Regions from separate parts of the Homo sapiens genome. Here region 1 is linked to region 2. Evidence: promoter capture Hi-C in human tissues and cell types (Jung and others, 2019). All regions are on one chromosome and are shown on one strand. The core of a region is centred on a gene start or on the middle of the fragment in contact, and the rest is flanking DNA. Distances in the headings are between cores, read along the strand shown. Region 1 overlaps SLC16A12 (solute carrier family 16 member 12). Region 2 holds the start of IFIT5 (interferon induced protein with tetratricopeptide repeats 5).

Region 1 (6,232 bases), core at 2,220-4,719, 120 kb after region 2:
CCTAGCAACTTGGGAGGTTGAGATGGGAGGATTGCTTGAGCCTGGGAGGTCGAGGCTGCAGTGGGCCCTGATAAGGCCACTGCACTCCAGCCTGGGTGACAAAGAGAGACCCTGTCCCAAGATAACCCTTTTTATTTAATTTGATGCAATTGAATAAAAACAGAAAGTTTTCAGAGAAAGTTTGAGTATTAAGGTTGACAACTCAATCAATTTAAAGAAACACATAATAAAGGACACATCTGTAAGTATTTTAGAGGAAACACATTATTGTTGTAGAGTAAAAGGCCAAATTATTGTCCTAAACAAAAATACCCATATGGTACCACAATCATCAAAAACTTGAAAATAGTTGGTTAATTAATTCATTGGTTGACAGTAATTATATCAATTGTGTTGATTTGGTTGTTTTGACATCTTATACACATAAGCCTAGTGAATTCCACAGAGAAGAAAAAAAATCACTGAACATTCATTCAACCATTGGGAAAAGCTTTCCATATAATGAATGGGCCCTCTATAGAGAAAATGCACACACAAAAAATTTCCATTATATGTTAAGAATATACCACACATGAAATTTTATGTTTCAATAAAATTTTTTTCTAAAGAGGCACAAAATTATTATTACATATGTCCATAGTTTCTCAACCCTGGCTGTACATGAGATTCACCAGAGAGATTTAAAAACTATCAATACCCTAGCCCTGTATCTCAGACCTACGGAATCAGAATTTTTCAGAGTAGGACATTGGTACCAGTTTTTTTCCTTCCTCAGGTGATTCTAATGTGTAGGTGGGGTTGAGAACCATTGATACAGAGTCTTCAATCAACTGATTTATGGATACTAGGTTGTCAGGTGTCAACCTGAACAGACCATTTATTTTTTATATCATTTATGCCTGTGAGTTTGGGCTACCCCTATTCATAACTATTTAATAATGATGATTAAGGCTGGTTTTTGATAGTTGTCTGGTTGAACTATCACTGCCTGAAGAAGCAGCATTCTGTTCTCCCTTATGAGATTTAACTTTGTCGTGAGTTTTTATTTTTTTGGTGGTTCCTTCGGGGGCTATGAATGTGGTTGCTTTGAAGTTACAGGTTCAGAGAGCTGAAATTTCTGTTTCAAGAAATACATCTGGTTTCAGTAGATAAATATGAACTCACTCCCATGGAAAGTATTCCATCAAGCAAAGTGGAATCCCAAAATAAGTAATTATGGCCCTAATTTATAATATGTCAAATAAACCACAAAATGATTAATTGTGCTCAGGAATATTTTGAAAAAAACATAGTCTACAAATGATTTGGGTGATAATTTTTAAGTATTGGTATAGTTAACACTTTATGTAGCTACTTTGTTTACATATATGAACCACCGAGCCAGAAGACGGTGTTAGGGGGAAACAGTTGCTGATTTTTATGGTGATTCAGAAGTTGGGAAACTGAGTCCCAATTTCCTTTACAGTCTTTTTTTTTTTTTTTTTTGAGACAGTCTCTCTCTGTTGCCCAGGCTGGAGTGCAGTGGCACAATCTCGGCTCACTGCAACCTACACCTCCCAGGTTCAAGCCATCCTCCTGCCTCAGCCCCCCTAGTAGCTGGGATTACAGGCACGTGCCACCACGCCCAGCTAATTTTTGTATTTTTAGTAGAGACGGGGTTTCGCCATGTTGGCCACGCTAGTCTCGAACTCCTGACCTCAGGTGATCCACCCGCCTCAACCTCCCAAAGTGCTGGAATTACAGGCATGAGCCACTGCACCCGGCCTCCTTTACAGTCTTAAGTGACTAATGCTATATCTATAAGAGGCTCATAGACATGGAATTTCTCTCTAGATACAGAAATGAGTTATTTTCAAAATATACAGGGTACCCTCAGAAATGGAAACATTAGAAGCTCTCAGCAGTAAAGTAATCAGAAGTCAGGAAAAGCAGAGTCAAAAAGTTGATACAACATATTTTGAACATTTTGTTTCAATTCCTTTCATAAACAAAAAATTCATTCACTAATCTTTGGATATTGGGTCATGATTGGAGTTCTATGTTATTTTTCTTGGTTAATCCACATCCAGATTTCCTGCTTCCATTTCTTAAAGAGGATCAGGACCTTATTGGAGCTTGTGAAAAAACCTGAATGCAAAATCATTCTAGAAATTTTTACTGTACTCTTCAAATCTCTTATCACTATGCCACACCTAAGTACTCATCCCTCTTCCTTTTGTAATTTGCTTGTTCATGTTGCTTTTTAAAAAGCTTTATAGTCCTTTTATAAATTGAGATAAAATTCACATAAACTTCACTATTTTAATACTTTTAAAATGTAAAATTTGGTGGTTTTTTTTTTTCTTTTTTTTCTGAGACGGAGTCTCGCTCTGTTGCCCAGGCTGGAGTGCAGTGGCGGGATCTTGGCTCACTGCAAGCTCCGCCTCCTGGGTTCATGCCATTCTCCTGCCTCAGCCTCCCGAGTAGCTGGGACTACAGGCGCCTACCACCACGCCCGGCTAATTTTTTGTACTTTAGTACTAGAGACGGGGTTTCACCGTGTTAGCCAGGATGCTCTCGATCTCCCGACCTTGTGATTTGCCCGCCCCGGCCTCCCAAAGTGCTGGGATTACAGGTGTGAGCCACGGCGCCCGGCTGGTGGTTTTCATATATTTACAATGTTGTGCAACCACCACCCCATTATCTAATTCCAGAACATAGCCGTCACCCCAAAAAGGAACCTTGCATCCATCATCAGTCACTCTCTATTTCCCCTACCCCACTTCCCTGGCAATCACTAATCCACTTTTTGTTCATATGCATTTGCTTATTATGGACATTTCATATAAATCATACAACATGTGGTCTTTGTATCTGGCTTCTTTCACTTAGCATAATGTTTTCAAGGTTCATCCATGTCGCAGCATGTGTTGATATATTTTTTTTAACATTACTTACTTTTATGGGTCCATATAGCGATCAACTTAGTTTTCACAGAAATACCATTCTTTGTTTAGCATTCATATTACATCGGTTTAGGCAATATTTCATTAAATCACAAAATTACAATAGCATCCTGGCACTTTGGGAGGCCAAGGCAGGCAGATCACCTGAGGTCAGGAGTTCGAGACCAGCCTTGCCAACATGGTGATATCCTGTCTCTACTAAAAAAAAAAAAAGTACAAAAATTAGCCAGGCATGGTGGTGGATGCCTGTAATCCCAGCTACTCAGGAGGCTGAGGTGGGAAAATTACTTGAACCAGGGAGGCGGATGTTGCAGTGAGTCGAAATACACCACTGCACTCCAGCCTGGGTGACAGAGCAAGGCTCTGTCTCAAAGAAAAAAACAAAAATACAATAGCAAAGTACAACTGGCATAAACTGGACTGTAACCAAACACCGCTGTAAGCATGCACCTGACCTAGTAACAGCCAAGTATACAAATTTATTAAGATGATAGCTATTTCCCACAGCGGTCTCTGTGTCTGAGCAACCACCAGGATGTGGTTCAGAGGAGGAGAGCATTGGTTAATCCAATGAGTTGTTTCAGTGTTGGGCAGTATTTCATTAAGCAGAACAGAGTCACATGCATGTAGAGGGGCAGAGAGGTGATAAGTGTCTATTATATGACCCAACACAGCCTCAACTGGTTCCCAAGAGGAAGTTCTCTACGTGTCTTCAAAAAGAGGCAAGGATGTGCTGCCATAAAGATAGGTATATCCTCTGCCTCTATAAAAGCTTTACCGTGCTTTACCATCTTTCAAGAAGCAACTCCAATGGGCCCTCCTCTACAAAGTCTTCCCTAACCCTCAAATCTTCACAGTGCCTGCCTGCTCTCTCTTCTTCCTTTTAATTCCCAAAGTACTTATGCATCTCTTATGGTAGTTTGAATCGGTATGATAGCTAGCCATACAATGTCCTCTCTTCCATACCAGGATGTAAGCTGCATCAGAGGCATGTTCTGTGTCTTTACACGTCCTGCTGTCACCAGCACCAGAAAAGAGATGCTCAAAACACAGTCTTCACACAAATCCTTATACAAATCTTTTAATAAGAAGTAGAAGTTCAATAAATATTCATTAAATTAATAAATGAATGAGCACACTAATTAAATAATTAATTAATTTCATGCAACATCTTACCTGGCTACAGCAATTAACCCTACTCGTCAATGCGCGGTAAATGAAGGAAGGATATGTATCTGATGGGGCACAGTGGTGGGTGAATGAAGAAAAAAAAATCAGCTACTCCAGGTGCCTAGCATGCATCAGAAATTGTGACTGTTCCCCAAATGTTCAACAGACACCACCTTCAAACAGGACATTGTTAGATAATGACACTTTCTGATGTCCTTTGATGTAGAGCACATTAAAAATATTATCAGAGGGAAAATCTTTCTGTTCAAAATCCCCCAACCTCTTCAACTGTGTATTTAGTTTTCATCAATTAAATTATTATATCATTTCAATGGGTGACTTTTTATATACACTGGAAAGGTACTCATAAGAAAATAGCTTCCAAATTGGCAATTTTTAAAAGCAAAGCAACTGGTTAGGTGAGGAATGCATAAACAACCCCAAAAGCGGCACTGAATACTTTTCTTTGGCTGTATACGACTGAAAAACTGCCAAGTTCATTTCGATAAGCCTTTGTTAAAAACAATAAACATGCCTGAGCTTGCAAACTATGCTGTTTTGAAGAAAAAGCAATTGAGAGAATTAGAAAATGCTTAAAACTGGAATGTCTAATAGTCTATGAATATGGAGGAAAGTGGGGGACAAAATGTAAAGTGAGACAAAATAACAACAGAACACCATCTTCATAAATAAATAAAAAGCAACATCTTATAAACTAATTTAATTAGTCTCCAATACTAACATGGTACCACTAACACTCTTAAGAAAACAAATCATCCCGTGCTTCAAGTTTAGTCACCAAGGTGATCTCCCTGCAATAAAGGAAATGTAATTTCATTGACTCCAAATGAACATATATTAAATAACCAAATGTGGGAACTGCAATTCACTTACAGTAAAATGTCAGCTCATAAAAGTCAAAGTAACTTCACCTGAATTTGTTTTTTTGTTGTTGTTGTTGTCGTTTTTAGTTTTTTTTTTTTCCATGATTATAAGATTCTCAGAATTGCAGGATTGGAAGGAAGATAGTTTGGATCACTTATGTTTATTTTCCTGCTTAGGTAAAACTGAAATTCTCTTGTACCTGCCTAAGAAATCCTGGAAAAATTCTAGTGAATAAATTGCAACTTGAGCTCTATAGGATCAAAGTTCTTTGTTTTGTTCATTGACATATCCCAAATGCCCAGAACAGCACTAGGCATACAGTAGGCACTCAATAAATATCTGCTCAATTGAACTAAATTGAAAAATATGCAGTGCAATGCAATGTTAAATAAGTCACTTTGAAACTCCTTTCTTAGCTTTGTTTTGGTCATAGTATTAATCACAATAAACAAACAGTCCTCATATAAAACACTTCAACACTATAATTCATGTTTTTACTTCTGATCGATCATTACCATAGAGGGTGCTGAGAATCAGAAAAGACTCCAAGGAAAGATGGGGGTAGAGTTACTCCCATCTATTTGGACTAATTTTCTTCTTCTGGGCATTCACCTGAGAAGTATCTGTATATCCATAATATAAAAATAATTTAAAATATTACTTAAAATTAAAGGTTTGCACCTTTAAAAATTGTGCCACAAAAGCAATTTGATTAAATCAACCTCTCATCTATTTCAGAATCCCATCAGTTAAAAAAAAAAAACATAAAAAATAAGAACAGGAAAATGATGTGATTAGGTGATGCTAGTCATATTATTTTTGCTCAAAATGCCTAGAGGCAATATGCCTTGGAAAACTGAGTTAGGTGGGAATGAGAAGATCTGGATTCTAGTGTTGATTCCATCACCAGTTAACAGTATGAATTCAGCCAATCCTTGCCAATCTGGATCTGAGCTTCCTGGGCTGTAACGTGAAGAGTTTGAATTTAGTAGATGGTCTCCAAAGCCTTTCAGTTTCAAAGTTTCTCTAAACCCTGTAATTATAAGTGACTAAATCCAGTTCACCTAATTACTACCACTACTCTTTTACATCCTTCATTTCTTCAGCAAACATCCGGTCACCTTGGGGGCGCAGGGGGTGGAGGATGTCAAACACCATTAGCCACAGTTTGGCACGACATTTATGGAGGGGGAGCGACAAACAATGCAAGGGCAGCTAGCTGATGATTTTAA
Region 2 (6,034 bases), core at 2,584-5,083:
CATTAAATAACACAGGGAAACCACGGAGTTATTGCACGCGGTGCAAAAACCCAAGGAGGTGGCAGTCTTACACTGCTGAAGCCATCAAAAGGTGAAGGAGAGGGAAGAACAGCAGCATAAGCCACTGGCAGAGGCAGGGAAACACCAGCAGAAAGGAAAGCAAGAAAGAGACAGAAAGTCAGAGAGAGAGAGACAGAGAGAGGAAGAGAGAGACGAAGAAGTCAAAGAGAGAGATAGAAGTAGTAAAGAAAAAACAGTGTACCCTATTCCTTTAAAAGCCAGGGTAAATTTAAAACCTATAATTGATAACTGAAGGTCTTCTCAGAAACCCTATAACACTCCAATACCACCTTGCTGTCAGTGTAAACAAGGGCGTAGCCTGAAAGCACTGAGGCCACTGACAACCAGTAGCCTTCCTATCAAAAATCCTTACCCAGCAGGTTTCCTAACAGGGGATCTAAATCTTAATTAATTCCCATACAAAGGTCTGACCAGATCTAGGAGGAACTCCCTTCAGGACAGGACGGATAGATGGTTCCTCCTGGGCAATTAAGGAAAAAAAAAACACAATGGGTATTCAGTAAATAATAAGGAAACTCTTGTAGAAGCAGTGTTAGGAAAATTGCCTAATAATTGGTCTGCTCAAATGTGTCAGCTGTTTGCACTCAGCCAAACCTTAAAATACTTACAGAATCAGGAAGGAGCCATCTATACCAATTCTAAGTTAATATGGACTGAACGAGGTCTTACTAATAGCAAAGAATAATTGAAATCCCAAACTTACAAGGTTTTCAACTAACGTAAAGTTTGCTAAAAGTTAACAGTGTAACATGCATTATCCTACTACCATACACTCTCAAAGGATTTCTCAGACAGTTTGCATGAAATAATGAAATCTATCCTTACTCTACAATCCCAAACAGACTCTTTGGCAGCAGCGACTCTCCAAAATCGCCAAGGCCTAGACCTCCTCACTGCTGAGAAAGGAGGACTGTGCAGCTTCTTAGGGGAAGAGTGTTGTTTTTACACTAACCAGTCAGGGATAGCACGAGATGCCACCCGGTGTTTACAGGAAAAGGCTTCTGAAATCAGACAACACCTTTCAAACTCTTATACCAACCTCTGGAGTTGGGCAACATGGCTTCTCCCCTTTCTAGGTCCTGTGGCAGCCATCTTGCTGTTACTTGTCTTTGGGCCCTGTGTTTTTAACCTTCTTGTCAAATTTGTTTCCTCTAGAATTGAGGCCCTCAAGCTACAGATGGTCTTACAAATGGAACCCCAAATGAGTTCAACTAACAACTTCTACCGAGGACCCCTGGACTGACCTGCTGGCCCTTCCACTGGCCTAAAGAGTTCCCCTCTGGAGGACACTACACCTACAGGGCCCCTTCTTCGCCCCTATCCAGCAGAAAGTAGCTAGAGCAGTCATCAGCCAAATTCCCATCAGCAATTGGGGTGTCCTGTTTAGAGGGGGGATTGAGAGGTGAAGCTGGCTGGGCTTCTGGGTCAGGTGGGGACTCAGAGAACTTTTCTGTCTAGCTAAAGGATTGTAAACGCACCAATCAGCACTCTGTGTGTAGCTAAAAGTTTGTAAACGCACCAATCAGCACTCTGTCAAAATGGACCAATCAGCACTCTGTAAAATGGACCAATCAGCACTCTGTAAAATGGACCAATCAGCACTTTGTAAAGTGGACCAATCAGCTCTCTGTAAAATGGACCAATCAGCAGGATATGGGTGGAGCCAAATAAGGGAATAAAAGCAGGCCACCCCAGCCAGCAGCGGCAACCTGCTCGGGTCTGCTTCCACGTCGTGGAAGTTTTGTTCTTTCGCTCTTCGCAACGAATCTTGCTGCTGCTCACTCTTTGGGTCCACACTGCCTTTATGAGCTGTAACACTCACCACAAAGGTCTACGGCTTTACTCCTGAAGTCAGTGAAACCACGAACCCACCGGGAGGAACGAACAACTCCGGACGCGCCACCTTTAAGATCTGTAACACTCACTGTGAAGGTCTGCAGCTGCACTCCTGAAGTCAGCAAGACCACGAACTCACCAGAAGGAAGAAACTCCAGACACATCTGAACATCGAAAGGAACAAACTCCAGACACGCCATCTTTAACAACTGTAGCACTCACAGCGAGAGTCCGCAGCTTCATTCTTGAAGTCACCAAGACCAAAAACCTACTGGAAGGAACCAATTCCGGACACACCATCACCTACGTATTAAGCTCAGCATCACTTAGCTATACTTCTTGATGCTCTCCCTCCCACCACCCCCAACTCCAACAAGCCCCAGTGTGTGTTGTTCCCCACTGTGTCCGTGTGTTCTCATCATTTAGCTCCCACTTACAAGTGAGAACATGCAGTGTTTGGTTTCTGTTCCTGCATTAGTTTGCTGAGGATAATCACTGGAAATACTTGCTCTGTATTTAGAGTTCATAAAATTTGCAACTTATAAAAAGCAGATTCGTATACCTAAGTTATTCCAAATGTAAGTTTTCTATTAACTTATCAGTTTTTAAATTTATATTAAATTAAAAATCAGGTTCTTAATAGCCACAGGTGACCAGCAGTTTCTGTATAAGACAGTACAACTGTTAGAAGTGATTGCTTTAAATGAGGCACTCGCTTCAGGCACTAAGTTTTGAGGGGTGGGGTGCCAGAAGCTCAGTGATCAAGGTAGACAATATTTCAATGCAATATGTTTTTAAAAATTCAAAATCAGGCCAAGCATAGTGGCTCATGCCTGTAATCCCAGCATTTTGGGAGGCCACGATGGGCGGAACAATATTTAAGGTTTAGAAAAATATTTGTGCCCAGGTGTTGGAGACCAGCCTGGGCAACATGGCAAAACCCCGCCTCTACAAAAAATAAATTAATTAGCCCGACATAGTGGTGCACGCATATAGTCCCAGCCACTCAGGAGGCTGAGGTGGGAGGATCGCTTGAGCCATGAAGGTTGAGGCTGCAGTGAGCTGTCATCTCACCACTGCACTCCAACCTGAGTGACAGAGTGAGACCCTGTCTCAAAAAAAAAAAAAAAACCAAAATCAATGCAAAAGATGAATTATGGACAGGATATTGAGGTTTTGAATACAGACATTAACTCAATAAGGGTAAGGCCCGTGTCTGTTTTCTTTATTGTTATATTGACAGTACTTTGAACAAAGTCTGGCTCTTACAGTTGTTTGTCAATATTTGCTGAATGAATTCAAAGGGGACAAAATGTTTAAGGTATGGGTGTTTGACATTTTCTGCCTAGATCCCCAATACCACTCTTGTCTTTATTGGGTCCTTATTACAAAGCACCATTGGCGAAGGTATGGAAGAGAAGCAGTCTCCTACAATTGTGGGTAAGAGTGGATTTTTAAAGCTATTTGGCAATATCCGTCAAAACTTAAAATGTATATAGATTTTAGCTCCAAATTTCTCAGTTTACACCCAACAGAAATAACAGCATAGATGTATAGCATTGCAGTGTTGCTTGTTGAATCAAAAGACTGGAGTGGAAGCAGGGACTTAAGTTTCCGCCTGTAATCCCAGCACCTTGGGAGGCAGAGGCGGGCGCATCCCTTGAGATCACGACTGGGTGACACAGTGAGACGCTATCTCAAACAAACAAACAAACAAACAAACAGTTACACGGGCAGCATGCGAACTCAGCGTACTCAGGGAGGCAGATAAAAGCCGAGACCAAAGTGAAGGAGCCCAGCTGCAAATTCAACTCCGAAAGACCCTGGACTCCGCAAACGTCTGGCCGCGGCTCTTGAGCTCTTCTATTAAGTTTCGGTTTCTGAAGCTTACGTTTAGTTTCGATTTCTTAAGTTTCAGTTTCTGAGCGCTCGGCATCTGATTCAATCTCCAGTTTCCTGTTCTTGCTGGGGCTGGGGTCTCTCCTTTAACAAAGACACGCCGCGCGGCCGAGTCCAGGGGCTGCAGAGGCCTGGCGCGCGCACGCGCACGCGCACGCCCACCGCGCGGCTTCCCGCGGTCCCCGGTGCTGAGGAGAGAGCGATCCGAGGGACTGCGCCGCCCGGACGGCCTGCAGAGCGCTGCCATCATGAGGTAAGGGTTTTCCTTTGCCTCTCCTCCCAAGCCCTGCGTCGGCCTTGGTTTCAAACCGGGCTGCTTTTATTCATTTCCAGCGCAGTTCTGCGGCCTTTTCAGGGGCCGAGCCCCTCGCGCCCAGCAACCGGGCATCTGCGTTGGGGACCCTCCCCGGGCGCTCTGTCCCGGCGCGCGGCGTCTGAAGTCGGGCCTGCCGGGGAGGGTGGCCGAGTGGACGCTTCTCGGGAGTCCGGCCCCTCCCCAGCGCCTAAGAAGGCCGGTCAGGGAGGAGGAACAGGAGATGCTCCCCGGGAGCCTGTCCCATCCCTGGCGTCTGCGGTCGGGACTGTCAGGGTATGTGCCGGGCGACGCTCCCCCGGAAGGCCTGTCCACCCATCGCGACCCGACGGCTCTTCTCGGCAGCGGCGACGGTGACCGTGCTGGGTCCGCGGCCGCCGCCTCCGGGAAACTGGTCAGCGCCTGCAGAGCCCCCAGGCGCTGTTCCGGGGGCAGCTGCTACGTGCCACGGGTCTCCTTAGGCCTGTCGCGTGCCTCTCTTTCCAGCTGCCATTCCCTCGGTGTGGCATACGCGGTTTCGCCGCAGCCCTGCAGGCGTCAGGTTCGCCTGCCACTGCCAGTTTGCGTTTCTGATTTCTGGGTCTGAGTTCTTCCCTTCCCAGGAGCTACCTCTGTACCAAGCACAGATTGTTATCGTCCCACCCAATCCGCTGTTTTATGAGGATTTCTTTATCTGTTTCCTTTACTGATTTAGTATGATGGCGTCCTTTTCTTGATCATTTTGTATCCCCAGGGGCTAGCACCCCGCCCTGCACGTGGTTAGTGAACCTTCCGCATTTAATGAGTTGAGGAATGAGATGTTAAGGTCTTGGGCTCTAAAAGCAGATAGTCCCTTGTTCTAAATCCGGACTGAACTCCTACTAGTTGAGTGATCCCAAAGTTTCTCAAACTCTGTGAGTCTGTTCCTTATTTGTAAAAATTAATGGTGTCCATCTCTTGGGACTGTGGAAAAGGACAGTAATAAATCCTATCAGTTGACTGCTTAGCACATAATACTTGCACAATAAATGTTAATTATTCCCATTATAAGTTTAAAAAAAAAGTTTAAGTGCCACCCACACATCTAACTTTATTTTTGAGACGGAGTCTCGCCCTGTCACCCAGGCTGTAGTGTAATGGCTCCATCTCGGCTCACTGCAACCTCCGCCTCCCGGGTTCAAGCCATTCCCCTGCCTCAGCTTCCCGTGTAGCTGGGATTACAGGCGTGTGCCACCACGCCTGGCTAATTTTTTGTATCTTTAGTAGAGACGCGGGTTTCACCATGTTGACCGGGCTGGTCTCGAATTCCTGACCTCGTGGTCCACCCGCCTCAGCCTCCCAAAGTGCTGGGATTACAGGCGTGAGCCACAACGCCTGGCCACATCTAACATTTGTAAGAAAGGAGAGTGCTATCAGGAAGGGGCTTGACAACAACAACAACAACAAAACAACAACAACAACAAAAAACAGAAAAAGACGGTGGCGTGCACCGTATATATGCAGGATGGGGAGGAAAAGGGCTCAGCCCCATTGGGGACTGTCTCCCAAGGACAATGAAAGTCTGCTTCTTCCTAGCAGAAGAACAGAATTACCGAAAGATACGTGTTACCTCTTCTGATGCAATAGCTTCTCTCTTATTAGCTTCCCAAAGACAAAGTTACAAAATTAAGTAGACAAAGTTTAAACAATAAAAATTCTCATGGTGTCCAGTTGTGCATAAATTCCAGAGCCTGGACAAACCACGTCAGTACCTGATTGAATGTCCCTTTGAGATCTTACAACCAAATCCATAATACCTGAGCAGCCCTCCTCATCCTCCTTGGGCTGGGCTGGTAGAGACCTTCAAAACAGGTGTTTGTTTTAGGCAGGGGGCTGGTAAAGCCATGTTGTTGTGGATTTAAGCAGGCTGTAAGGACATGGCATGTC

The links. Contacts are between HindIII fragments. The study calls those that stand out against the background at their distance.
Region 1: a contact is called between a fragment that was not itself captured here and the fragment with the promoter of IFIT5 in region 2, in 3 of the 25 tissues and cell types used here (aorta, hippocampus and spleen).

The regions. Positions count from the first base shown.
Region 1 is chr10:89,528,083-89,534,314 of GRCh38, forward strand. All of the region lies in intron 2 of SLC16A12 (solute carrier family 16 member 12), which reads right to left. Among named protein-coding and RNA genes, the nearest start is that of SLC16A12, 4.4 kb to the right of the region's middle. RefSeq lists an enhancer at 5,779-6,232. The HindIII fragment of the contact is 4,199 bases long and covers 1,371-5,569 here.
Region 2 is chr10:89,410,735-89,416,768 of GRCh38, forward strand. It overlaps IFIT5 (interferon induced protein with tetratricopeptide repeats 5), which reads left to right and starts at 3,834. Exons shown (of 2, transcript NM_012420.3): 1 at 3,834-4,069. The coding sequence starts at 4,065. It also overlaps a transcript of LIPA not described here. RefSeq lists enhancers at 3,691-4,000, 4,611-4,710, 4,811-4,880. The HindIII fragment of the contact is 7,296 bases long and covers 730-6,034 here.